Regions from separate parts of the Homo sapiens genome. Here region 1 is linked to region 2. Evidence: promoter capture Hi-C in 16 types of primary human blood cells and fetal thymus (Javierre and others, 2016). All regions are on one chromosome and are shown on one strand. The core of a region is centred on a gene start or on the middle of the fragment in contact, and the rest is flanking DNA. Distances in the headings are between cores, read along the strand shown.

Evidence for each region. The method cuts DNA at HindIII sites, captures the fragments that hold promoters and counts their contacts. A CHiCAGO score of 5 or more calls a contact.
Region 1: a fragment that was not itself captured here is called in contact with the fragment with the promoter of YTHDC1 in region 2 in 1 of 17 cell types (monocytes); the score reaches 6.0 in monocytes.

What each region holds. Positions count from the first base shown.
Region 1 is chr4:75,494,657-75,499,793 of GRCh38, forward strand. All of the region lies in intron 3 of RCHY1 (ring finger and CHY zinc finger domain containing 1), which reads right to left. Among named protein-coding and RNA genes, the nearest start is that of RCHY1, 17 kb to the right of the region's middle. The HindIII fragment of the contact is 4,911 bases long and covers 1-4,299 here.
Region 2 is chr4:68,346,871-68,352,709 of GRCh38, forward strand. YTHDC1 (YTH N6-methyladenosine RNA binding protein C1) reads right to left here and starts at 3,220. Exons shown (of 17, transcript NM_001031732.4): 1 at 2,856-3,220. The coding sequence starts at 2,883. RefSeq lists an enhancer at 2,589-3,168. The HindIII fragment of the contact is 7,711 bases long and covers 1-5,839 here.

The DNA.
Region 1 (5,137 bases), core at 594-3,093, 7.1 Mb after region 2:
CATCCTTGTCCAGACATCACTTAGTTCACATGTTGATTATTTTTTACGAGATTCCTAGAAGTGAAACTACTGAGTCAGAAGATGTTGCAACATTAATTGTGATACTGCCAAACTGACCTCCAAATAGACAGTACCAATTTATACTTCCACCAACACTGCATGAGAGTAACCATGTTCCCCACACTTTGGGTAACATGGTTACTTGTATTATAGACAAACAAAAGATGTCATTTTAATTTGCATTTCACAAATAATGAGACAGGGACTGTACATTAATGAACTACTTGGATTTCTCTGTGGATTGTCTGTTCATATGTTCTGTCCATTTTTCTACTGAAGTATTTGTTTTTAACCAATTTACTGGTAAAAAATATATCATGAATATTAGTTATTTATATAATGAATATCAATGTTTTCATTCGCATGTATTATATTTATATATCACCAATATCAATTTTTTATTTGCATATTTTATATTTACTTTTCTGGTCTGTGATTTCTCTTAACTTTGTCATATAGCCATTTTTAATTACTATGTGGTAAAAAGTCATCAATATTTTCCTGTATAGCTTATGCTTTCTGCCTCTTGTTTAGGAAACTTTTGTAACCTATAGATCATAAACAGACTCTCCTATGTATACTTCTAGTACTTACAGCTTTTCATTTTTATATTTTTCTTTAATCCATTTGAAATTTGCTATATATGGCAAAGGTTAGATTGCTACTTGTCCCTAAATTTCTATTCTCCACTTCTTCTACAATGATAGGGTATTTAGCTAGGCACTGAGCTATTCAGAACTGTCCTGAATAAAGACTATTTTCCAACATACCTGGACGTTGGGAACAGAAGAGATACATGAAAATTCTGCATTGTACCCTCAAGAGGAAAAATATGCCTTCCCTTCACCTAACTAGCCTTTCTACAGACCAGAATATGAGGCATTTTAGACTACAGAGACAAGAAAATATCTTATGGGTGACAAGGCAAAAAACAAGAAGAGCCTGAGTTCCTGTTTAGCTACACAACTCAGATTTATTTCCATGAGAAATGAACTTCTGCCTTTCTTGAACCACCATTACTTTGGGTTTCTGTCACAAGATGCTAAATCCATACTCTAATGAATACAGTTTGAAGAGTCAATTTTTGGTTTCCGAATGGATAATCAATTATCTTAATACTACCCTTTCCTGATTTGAAATGTCACTTTTGCCATAAATTCATATGTATAAATATTTGTCTGTGTATATACACACACACATATTTATCTATTCGTCTATTCCTGCACAAACAGCAAACTATTTGAATTACTATAGCTTTATCATGTTTTGATATGTGGAACGGCAATCCACTCTTCGTTGTCCTTCCTTCAAAATTTACTCAGCTATTGTGAATTTTCTCTTACAAATGAACTTTAGAATAGGCTGTCAAACTCCATAAGTAAAATTCTGCAGGGACGTTTCCACTACTGCCAAAGATAGAATAACGGAGATCAGACCTACCCTCCCATCTGAAAAAATAATGACAAAAGACAGAATATATGAAACAGCAGTTTCACTGAACATCAGGCAACAACACAGAGTGATCTGTGAGAGATAAGAAACAAAGTAAGTGAGCCCTAAAATTGCTCATTTATTGCCTAGAGAGTTTTGAGGCCAGGACAGGTTAGAAGAACTAAGGGTGAGCTAGGAAGACATCATGATTGAAATGATGAGCTGAGACAGTCTAGAGAAACCAAGACAGATTCATAGGACAGAGCATCAGATAGGAGAGAGCTGCACAGAGAAACCTCTGAAATATTTAGTAGGATACCCATCAGCACATGGATGTAAGAAAACTACCCAAAGCCAGGGAAACAACCTTCTAAAGAATGAGAACAGTACTACTCACACATGGCTAGGAACAGTGCCTGATCCCATCAAACAGACTGGGGAAACTCATAATTCGCAGGCTCCGGGTGGAGTATTCAGAAGGATATTGCCTCAACAGTGGAGAATAGCCCTGGGATAAGCCCTTCTGTAGATCTACCTAACAAATTAGAAAAGTAAATCCCAGAAAGTCTAAACTGTTTCCAAGTAACTTAACTGCATCCCAAAATAAAGCTCAAGAAGATTTATAGGAATACAAAAATACCCAGCACTAAACATGATAAAAAGAAAAATCACATCTGATATCCAACCCACAATAACCAGGCAACAAAGAGGCAGAAAAACACAACCTAAAATGAGAAGAATAATCAATCAATCAACCCAGAACAGACACAGATGTTAGAATTAATACAGGGCATTAAAAGTTATTATAACTGTATACCATTACATTAAAAAAGTATTAAATATGAAAAATATGTTTAAAGACCCAGATCAAACTTCTAGACATAAAAACTACAATGTCTGAGATTTAAAAATACACTGATGAAACTAATGGCAAGTTTGATATTGCTAACAAAAAGGTTAGTCAACTTGAAGGCACAGTAACAGAAACTATCCGAAATGAAATAGGAAGAAAAGGGAATTTTTTTAAAACGACAGAGCATGAGTAAGCTGTGAGACAACTTCAAGCAACCTAACATACATGTGTTCAGTTGAGCCTAACGCTGCCTCCTACATATTTTAAGATCGTCCTAAAAGGCTTTGCTGTACATAGTTAACTGTAACCTAACTGGATGTGTTTACCTACAGTAACCTACTCTAGTACCAATCAATCACCAAGTTTCATCCAATCACAGGCAGTCCTCGGTTCAAACTGTGTTTAAATAAGGCAAATGCTGAGCTGTAACCAATCCAGCTGTTTCCATACCTTACTCATTTTCTGTCACTTTCCTTTGTCTGTCCATAAATCCTCTCTGACCACATGGCAGAGCCAAGGTTGGTCTGAACCTATTATCATTTTGGAGCTACCCACCTTGCAAATCGTTCTTTGCTCAATTAAACTCTGTTAAGTTTAATTTAAACTCTGTTAAGTTTAATTTAAACTCTGTTAAGTTTAATTTGTCTTAAGTTTTTCTTTTAACACATGCAATTGGAGATCCCTAAGGTAGGAAGCAGGGGAAGGAGGAGGACCGAAAAAACATCTGAAATAGTAATAGCCAAAACTTTCCTGAAATTAATGAAAAAAACTATAAACCAATGGATTCAAAAAGCTCAACAAACCCTAAGCACAAGCAACATGAAGAAAACTATACAATGGAATGTCATAATCTAATTATCAAAACCAGAGACAAAGAAAAAAAATCTTAAAAGCAGCTATTTTGAAAGAAAGAAAAGAAGACGTGCACAGGAGAAAAATAAAAATGACTGGATTACCCCCGGGACAGACTTCACAAACTCAAAATTGGTAAAAGGAAAGAAATAATAAAGAGCAGAGCAGAAAAAAATGAGAGTGAGACTAAAAACACAATACAAAAGACCAATAAAACAAAAGCTGGTGTTTTTGAAAAGATAAAATCAAAAAAAAATGTAATAGACTAAAAAAAAAAAAACCAGAAACAAAAGAGAAGACGTAAGAACTCAGACCACAGAAATACAAAGATAGATACTATTACGAACAACTATTTAACCACAAATTGGAAAACCTAGAATAGATAAATTCCTGGACACATCCAACCTTCTGAGATTGAACCACAAAAAAACCTCAATAAGCCAGTAACAAGTAATGAGACTGAAGCCATGACAAAAAGTTTCACATCAAAGAAAAGCCCACAATCTGATGGCTTCACTGCTGAATTATAGCAAACATTTAAAGAAAGGAAGGAAGGAAGAGAAAGAAAAGAAATCCTAAAATTTATATGGAGCCACAAAAGACCCTGAATAGTCAAAGCAATCCTGAGCAAAAAAAAAAAAAAAAAACATAACTGGAGAGGCTTCACACTACCTAACTTCAAAATATACTACAAAGCTATTGTAATCAAATCAGCATGGTACTGGCATAAAAAGAGACAAGTAGACCAATTATGCAGAACAGAGAATCCACATATAAATGTATGCATTTACGGCTAACTCATATTCAAGAAAGGTGCTAAAAATATACAACAGAAAAAGGACAATCTCTTCAATAAATGGTGCAGAAAAAAACAGGATACCATATGCAGAAGCATGAAACTAGATGCTTCTCTCTCACCGTACACAGAAATCAAATCAAAATGGATTAAAGACTTAAACCTAAGACCTGAAACTATAAAACTAATGAAAGAAAACACTGGGGAAACTCTCCAGGACACTGATCTTGGCAAAGATTTTTTTGTGTAAGATCTCAAAAGCACGCACAACTGAAACAAAAACAGACGGAATTACATCAAGCTAAAAAGCTTCTGCACAGCACAGGGAAACAAACAAGTGAAGAGACAACCCACAGAATGAGAGAAACTATTTGCAAACTATCCACCTGACAAGGAATTAATAACCAAAATATATAAAGAGCTCAGACAACTTAATAACAAAAAAAAAGATTTAAAAATAGTCCAAAGACCTGTACAGTAATTTCTCAAAAGACAAACTAATGGCCAACAGGTATGTGAGAAAATACTCAACATCACTAATCATCAGACAAACAGAAATCAAAACCACAATGAGGTATCATCACACCCCAGTTAGAATGGCTTATATCATAAAAGACAGGGAATAACAGATGCTGGTGAGGATATAGAGAAAGTGGAACCCTTGTATACTACTTGTAGAAATATAAATTAATACAGCCACTGTGGCAATCTGAATGGAGAGTCCTCAAAAAGACTAAACATAGAGCTACCATATGATCCAGCAAGTCCACTAAAAGTACATATCTAAGGGGAAATCAGTACCTCAAAGGGTATCTGCACTCCCATGTTTACTGCAGCACTATTCAAAATAGCTGAAATATGGAAGCAACCTTAGTGTCCATCAGTGGATGAATGGATAAAGAAAATATGGTATATGTACACTACGGAGTATTACTCAGCCATTAAAAAGAATGAAATCCTGTAATTTACAGCAACATGGATAGGATGGAGGTCATTATGTTAAGCGAAACAAGCCAACCACAGAAAGACAAATATCACATGTTCTCAATCATATGTGGGAGCTAAAAACAGGATGTCATGAAGATAGAGTAGGCTGGAAGACACCAGAAGCCTACAAGGGTAGGGAGGATGGGGCAGGGGAGGGG
Region 2 (5,839 bases), core at 1,970-4,469:
TATAGATAGGATATAGTAATATCCATTGTTTCAGGTATCCACTGTGGATCTTAGAACGTATTTACCAGGAAAATAAGGCTGGTAGAGGTTGGGGGTCAGGGGAGAACTGTTGTATAACTTAAACTGAGAAACTCTTAGCTTTCGTTATCATACTGCACATGTCATTTAACCAGTCAGTCAATGAAGTCCAACCTGGTAAATACTCAAGGTACTGAAACACAATTACTGTATACAAAGAACCCAGTGAACAAGACAGATGTACTCCGGGCACTCAGGGAGCTTCTAGTCTGGTAATCTAGAAAACACGTTATTTTTAACACAGTAACTCATTACACATTACTCATACACATTTTGGATAGATTAAACTTTTGTAACTGTTCTTTGTAGAGAACTTTGTAAAAGATTAATACAATTTATACAAGGTGTTTGCAATAATAGAAAAGATGCATATTTCCTCCTTATATAGAAAAATGGCATTTAATATTAGTTAACACCAACATTGCAACACCTTTCAAATCCAGTTTCTTGGGCAAATTATCACCACAGGAATCACAGGGAGCTAGCAATCTGTCCACTTATATGGGCTGCAGCTTCTAGGTATGAGTATTATTGAAGCATTGTTATAGATTATAGAAATTCATGTCTTTATTACCCAGATAAGTGCAAAACCCCATCAAGAACTCTATGAACAAGGGTCTTTACTGTTCTGTGATTAATATAATTGCCAATTTCTGCAACTTATAGACTCATTTGCTATCAAGATCTTAAACCATTTATGGAATCATTTGAGAAAGAACTTAACGTTTGTGACATGACTGAGATTTTTAGAGGGTTTATCCTTATAATTTCCTGTTTCATGTAAGACAATAAAGCGCTTAAGAGTCCCACTTTTCCTTAAGAGAGGAAGACCTAAGTATTGATTCTAACTATAAAGCTAAGTGTGTGATGATGATCATCAAGTAAATGATACAACCTGTAGGTTACCTAGAACTCTCCCAAAACGAAATAAACAATTCCAGTAGGTAAGTGCTAGTTCTCCGTGTAGTCCAGAAACAATCTTTGTTCTAAACTATAAAGATAAAGCACTTACATCAAGTTTTTAAATAAAGTTATGAAAATTAAATAAAAAAAACTAAGCAAATGTGAGGCAAAGAACCTTTTCAAAAGTGGGGAAATGTATCCTATGTATAGACAACAGGTGATATCACTACTTCCCAGTAATAGCTACACAGTTTATGTATTTGGACTGCATTATCATCACTAAATCATTTCTAAAGCAAAACTTTTAAAATCATCTACTTTTCTTCTTCAATGTGCATTACTGCGTCTACTCTATTAACGACTTGTAAATATTTTCATCTTAGACAACGAATTCTTGAGAAGTACTGAATTTTACTCATTTTTGTGTTTGGTTCATTTCGCCCACCACAACCACTACAGACTCCCATATCCACAGTTCATAAATTAGAAAGACAATCAGATGTTTGCTGAATACTTACTAATTAAGATCATGTATTTTAATAACTGAGTTAACTAATTAAAAGCATTTTCCTTTACTCACTAACACCATACAATCCTATGTTCCCATTACTTCTGGATTTCTCAAAAAAAAAAAAAAAAAAGGCCCAGGGAGATTTTTTAGCATTTAGTTTAAGGATGGAACATTAAACTGCTATAACCTAATCAAAGAACTACTTTAGGATAAGGGCAGTATCTTAAAAGTATTCCCACCCATTCCACTTTCCCAGCTTGTCCCTAACCTAGGGCAGTTCATTGAAGCATGAAGACTCTCCTGATGCAGAAACCAGAAAAATTAAGAAAAAAGGATTACACGCCTAATGTAACTTGACTCTAGAGCCCACTTAACAACCCCCGACAAAAAAACCCCAAATCAATTAGGCACACAGAAGAGATGTGTGAGACACAGAGCAGCGACCGTGTCATATTTTTAACTATAATCTTTCCAAGACTATTATGTTAATCTTAGGGTTGAAAAAGATCTTAAAGCAGCATTTAATCTAGACCACTCTCCAGAGAGACACTGATCTAGGACCTACATTAATATCTCTAGGGCTTGGGAACTTAGTATTACTATCTTTCCATTACAGCAACGTCAGTTCTCTCTACATTTCACTGAAATTTATCCCTCCAACTCTCTGTAACTTGCATTCATTTGTTTCTGACTGTACCCTCTGGGAGCTACACACGGTTTTTCTAACATAATAGCACCCAGGATTTCTTTGCCAGCCTAAGTCACACAGTCATCTTTCCAAACTAAGTATTCCTTTTTCCAAGTACTATGTTTTTCCAAAATAAGTATTCGAGGAACAAAACGGGTAATTCACTTTGCCTATTTAACAGGAACAGCCAGAAGTTATTTGCAGATATTTCTCAAGATTAATAACCTGCCAGTGCCACTTCCTAAACTTGCTCACTTACCACACCACCAGTGTTGATCGCGGCATTAGGGGTTTTCAAATTTTAGCCTAACAGAAATGGTTGTCCTGAAAATACGCGTTACATCCGCATGATCCTACCAGGAAATAAACCTAGGAGCTTGCAACTCAGAAAGGGCCCCTCTCAGCCCAAGACAGCTAAACGGAAAGTCAAGCGTGAAATCCGCATCAAAGAAAAACCCTACTGAGATGAAGTGCTAGGCCATATGGAGACTGAGGACGAAAGGGCAGGCCTGGTCTCCGCCAGAGTCTAAGTGTCTCGGTGGGGGCCACCGGCTCCTCGCGAGGCCAGCTAACCTCCCCAACCCCCACCCCCCACCCCCAACGACGACCACTGCTCCATCACCCCACTCCCGGGCCCCAGCCTCGCCTCGGCCCGTCATCTTTCTCCGCACTAACCTTTCTCCTCCCGACTGTCAGCCGCCATGGCTCCCCTTCGGTTTCCGCCGCTGCCACCGCCGCCGCCGCTTAGACGCGACTCGCGCGGGCGCCGCAGCCGCGGCAGAAGCACGGGCCCGTCCGTCAGTCCGTCTGCCCGGATACGCGCGTCGCACTTGGCCTCTTAACACTCAGCCTTCTCGACTCTTCCCGCTTTTTCCCTTTCTCCCTTCCTTTCACTCCAGCATCCAGCGGCCTAGGCCCAGCCTTCTCGTTAGGGCTCAGACTCGGGCTAGGTATGGGGGAGGGAAGGGAAACAGATGGCGACGGCGGGCGGCGCTAAAATGGAGCCTGCTTCCTGCGCGAAACAATCCCGCTCCCGAAATGCCCTGCGCTGTTTACGCTTCGTTCCTCTCTGGGAACGTCACAGTGCGGAGAGGGGCGGGGAGGCGGGGACGTGCAAAGGAACGTGACGTGACGTCAGCGCGTCGCCCTGCCGCCCTCAGCCCACTGGTACCTGGAAGGAGTCTTATTCAGGGATTAGGTTACCCAGGTTGTTCATGGAGTTCCCGCTGTACGGCCTATAACTGGATGGCGCAATTTTCCCACCTGAAACTCTTAGTGCAGGGCCTAACAGGCCTTCTTAGCTAGAGTCGCTCTAAAGGACTCCTGATTCAGTTCGGGTAATCGGAGTCTTATTTAGGACAAGTCTGGGTGAATCCCTTATGTTTACCAGATGTACTTTCTTAGTTGGAGTTCCACTCTTACCCAAAGGCAGTGCAGCATGCAACCAGCTTGTTTGTAGTCACAAAAGCCTGCTAGTTTTTGTTTGTTTTGAGACGGAGTCTCGCTCTGTCGCTAGGTTGGAGTGCAGCAGCGCGATCTCGGCTCACCGCAACCTCCGCCTCCCAGGTTCAAGCGATTCTCCTGGCTCTGCCTCCTGAGTAGCTGGGACTACAGGCGCCCGCCACCACGCCCAGTTAATTTTTTTATTTTTAGTAGAGACGGGATTTCACCATGTTGGCCAGGATGAAGTGCTGGGATTACAGGCGTGAGCTACCACGCCCGGCCTAGTTTTGTTTTTAATTGGGGAAAGAATTGTATCATAATAGGTCTTTGTAATTAATAACTAATTTAAACATGTTATCAAGGCCCTGGGGCACAAAATTGATTTAAGCAGACCATCGAGGAATCGAAACTACAGAATAAATGACCAGTAGATACATAACTACATAGTGTGGTAAAATCTGCAAGAGAAACTTGCTTAAGATTCATTGTCCAACGGAAACAATCTAATTTTGCTTCCTTGAACTATAACTGAGTTATAAGGGAAAGAAAAATCTGAAAAAGGTAACTAAGTAACTTCGTGATATGAAGACAAACTGGCAAACTAACTGCATATTCAGGGAAAGACAAGTAGTCTAGAAGTCTAGAATGTGGTACCTCTTTTTTTTTGAGACGTGGTCTCACTGTGACACAGGCTGGAGTGCAGTGGTGTGATCATGGCTCACTGCAACCTTGGGCTCAAGTGATCCTCCCACCTTAACCTCCCAGGTAGCTGGAACTACAGGCATGCTCCACCACATCCGACACATTTTTTGCATTTTTTGTGGAGATATACCATCTCCGCAAGATGGCTAACACCTAGCCATCTTGCCCAGGCTAGTGTCTAAATCCTGGGCTCCAGCAATCCTCCCACCTCGGCCTCCCAAAGTGCGGGATTACAGGTGTGAAGCCACCAGGAGTGGCCCCATTTCTAGGACCTTAATTGAACACTAATTTGAATATACGAACACGCACACGCCACAAACACACACACACACACACATTAAATAATATCTGATGATCCTGAGGAATTGCTATTTGTATTTTTAGTTTTAATAAGTTTTGCTTTTTAAAGAATTTCTTATAATTTCATGATTCATATGAAAATATTTGCAGGCCAGATGCAGTGGCTCATACCTGTAATCCCAGCACTTCGGGAGGCCCAGGCGGGCGGATCACCTGTGGTCAGGAGTTTGAGACCAGCCTGACCAATATGGTGAAACCCCGTCTCTGCTAAAAATACAAAAATTAGCCAGGCATGATGGCATGCGCCTGTAGTCCCAGCTACTCGGGAGGCTAAGGCAGAATTGCTTGAACCCGGGAGGCGGAGGTTGCAGTGAGCTGAGATTGTGCCACTTTCACCCCAACCAGGACAACAGAGCTAGACTCTGTCTCAAAATAATAATAAGAATAGTAATAAATATTTGCAAATGAAATTATATGGTATCTGGGATTTATCAAACTGGTGGCAGGTGTAGCGAAATGGGTAGGAGAATAGATTAAACAAGTCTACCCATGAGTTAACAATTGTTGAAGCTGGGCGATACATATGTGAAAGGAAAATCTCCCCAACATCACTAAGCCAAAGGAAGAAGTCAAGCTGGTGATTGATGTCTCATGTATCCCTAAAATGTATAAAATGAAGCTGTGCACGACCACCTTGGGCACATGTCATCAGGACAGCTTGAGGCTGTCATGGGCTCTTTCTTAACCTTGGCAAAATAAACTTTCTAAATTGATTGAGACCTGCCTCAGATACCTTTTGATTTCCACATACATTAGTTAATATTATACTCTCTTCTCTACTTTTTTGCATATTTGAGTTTCCTTTAATAATTTTTTGTAAAGAAGAGCATAAGAAAACAGCCAAGTAATTTAGAAGATATCAAAATGCCATTTTCCCTGATTCTACATTTGTCCTATTAGAACTAAGGAGTAATTTTTAATGTAAATAGAATTCCATATTTGCATCTTTGTTATTAAAATAAGTTTATGGGGCCAGCTGCAGTGGCACATGCCTGTAATTCCAGCCCTTTGGGAGGCCAAGGCAGGTGGATCACTTGGGCTCAGGAGTTTTAAGACCAGCTTGGGCAACCTGGCGAAACCACATCTCTGCAGAAAATAAAATAAAAAATAGCTGGTCATGGTGGTGCACACCTGTAGTCCCAACTTCTCTGGGG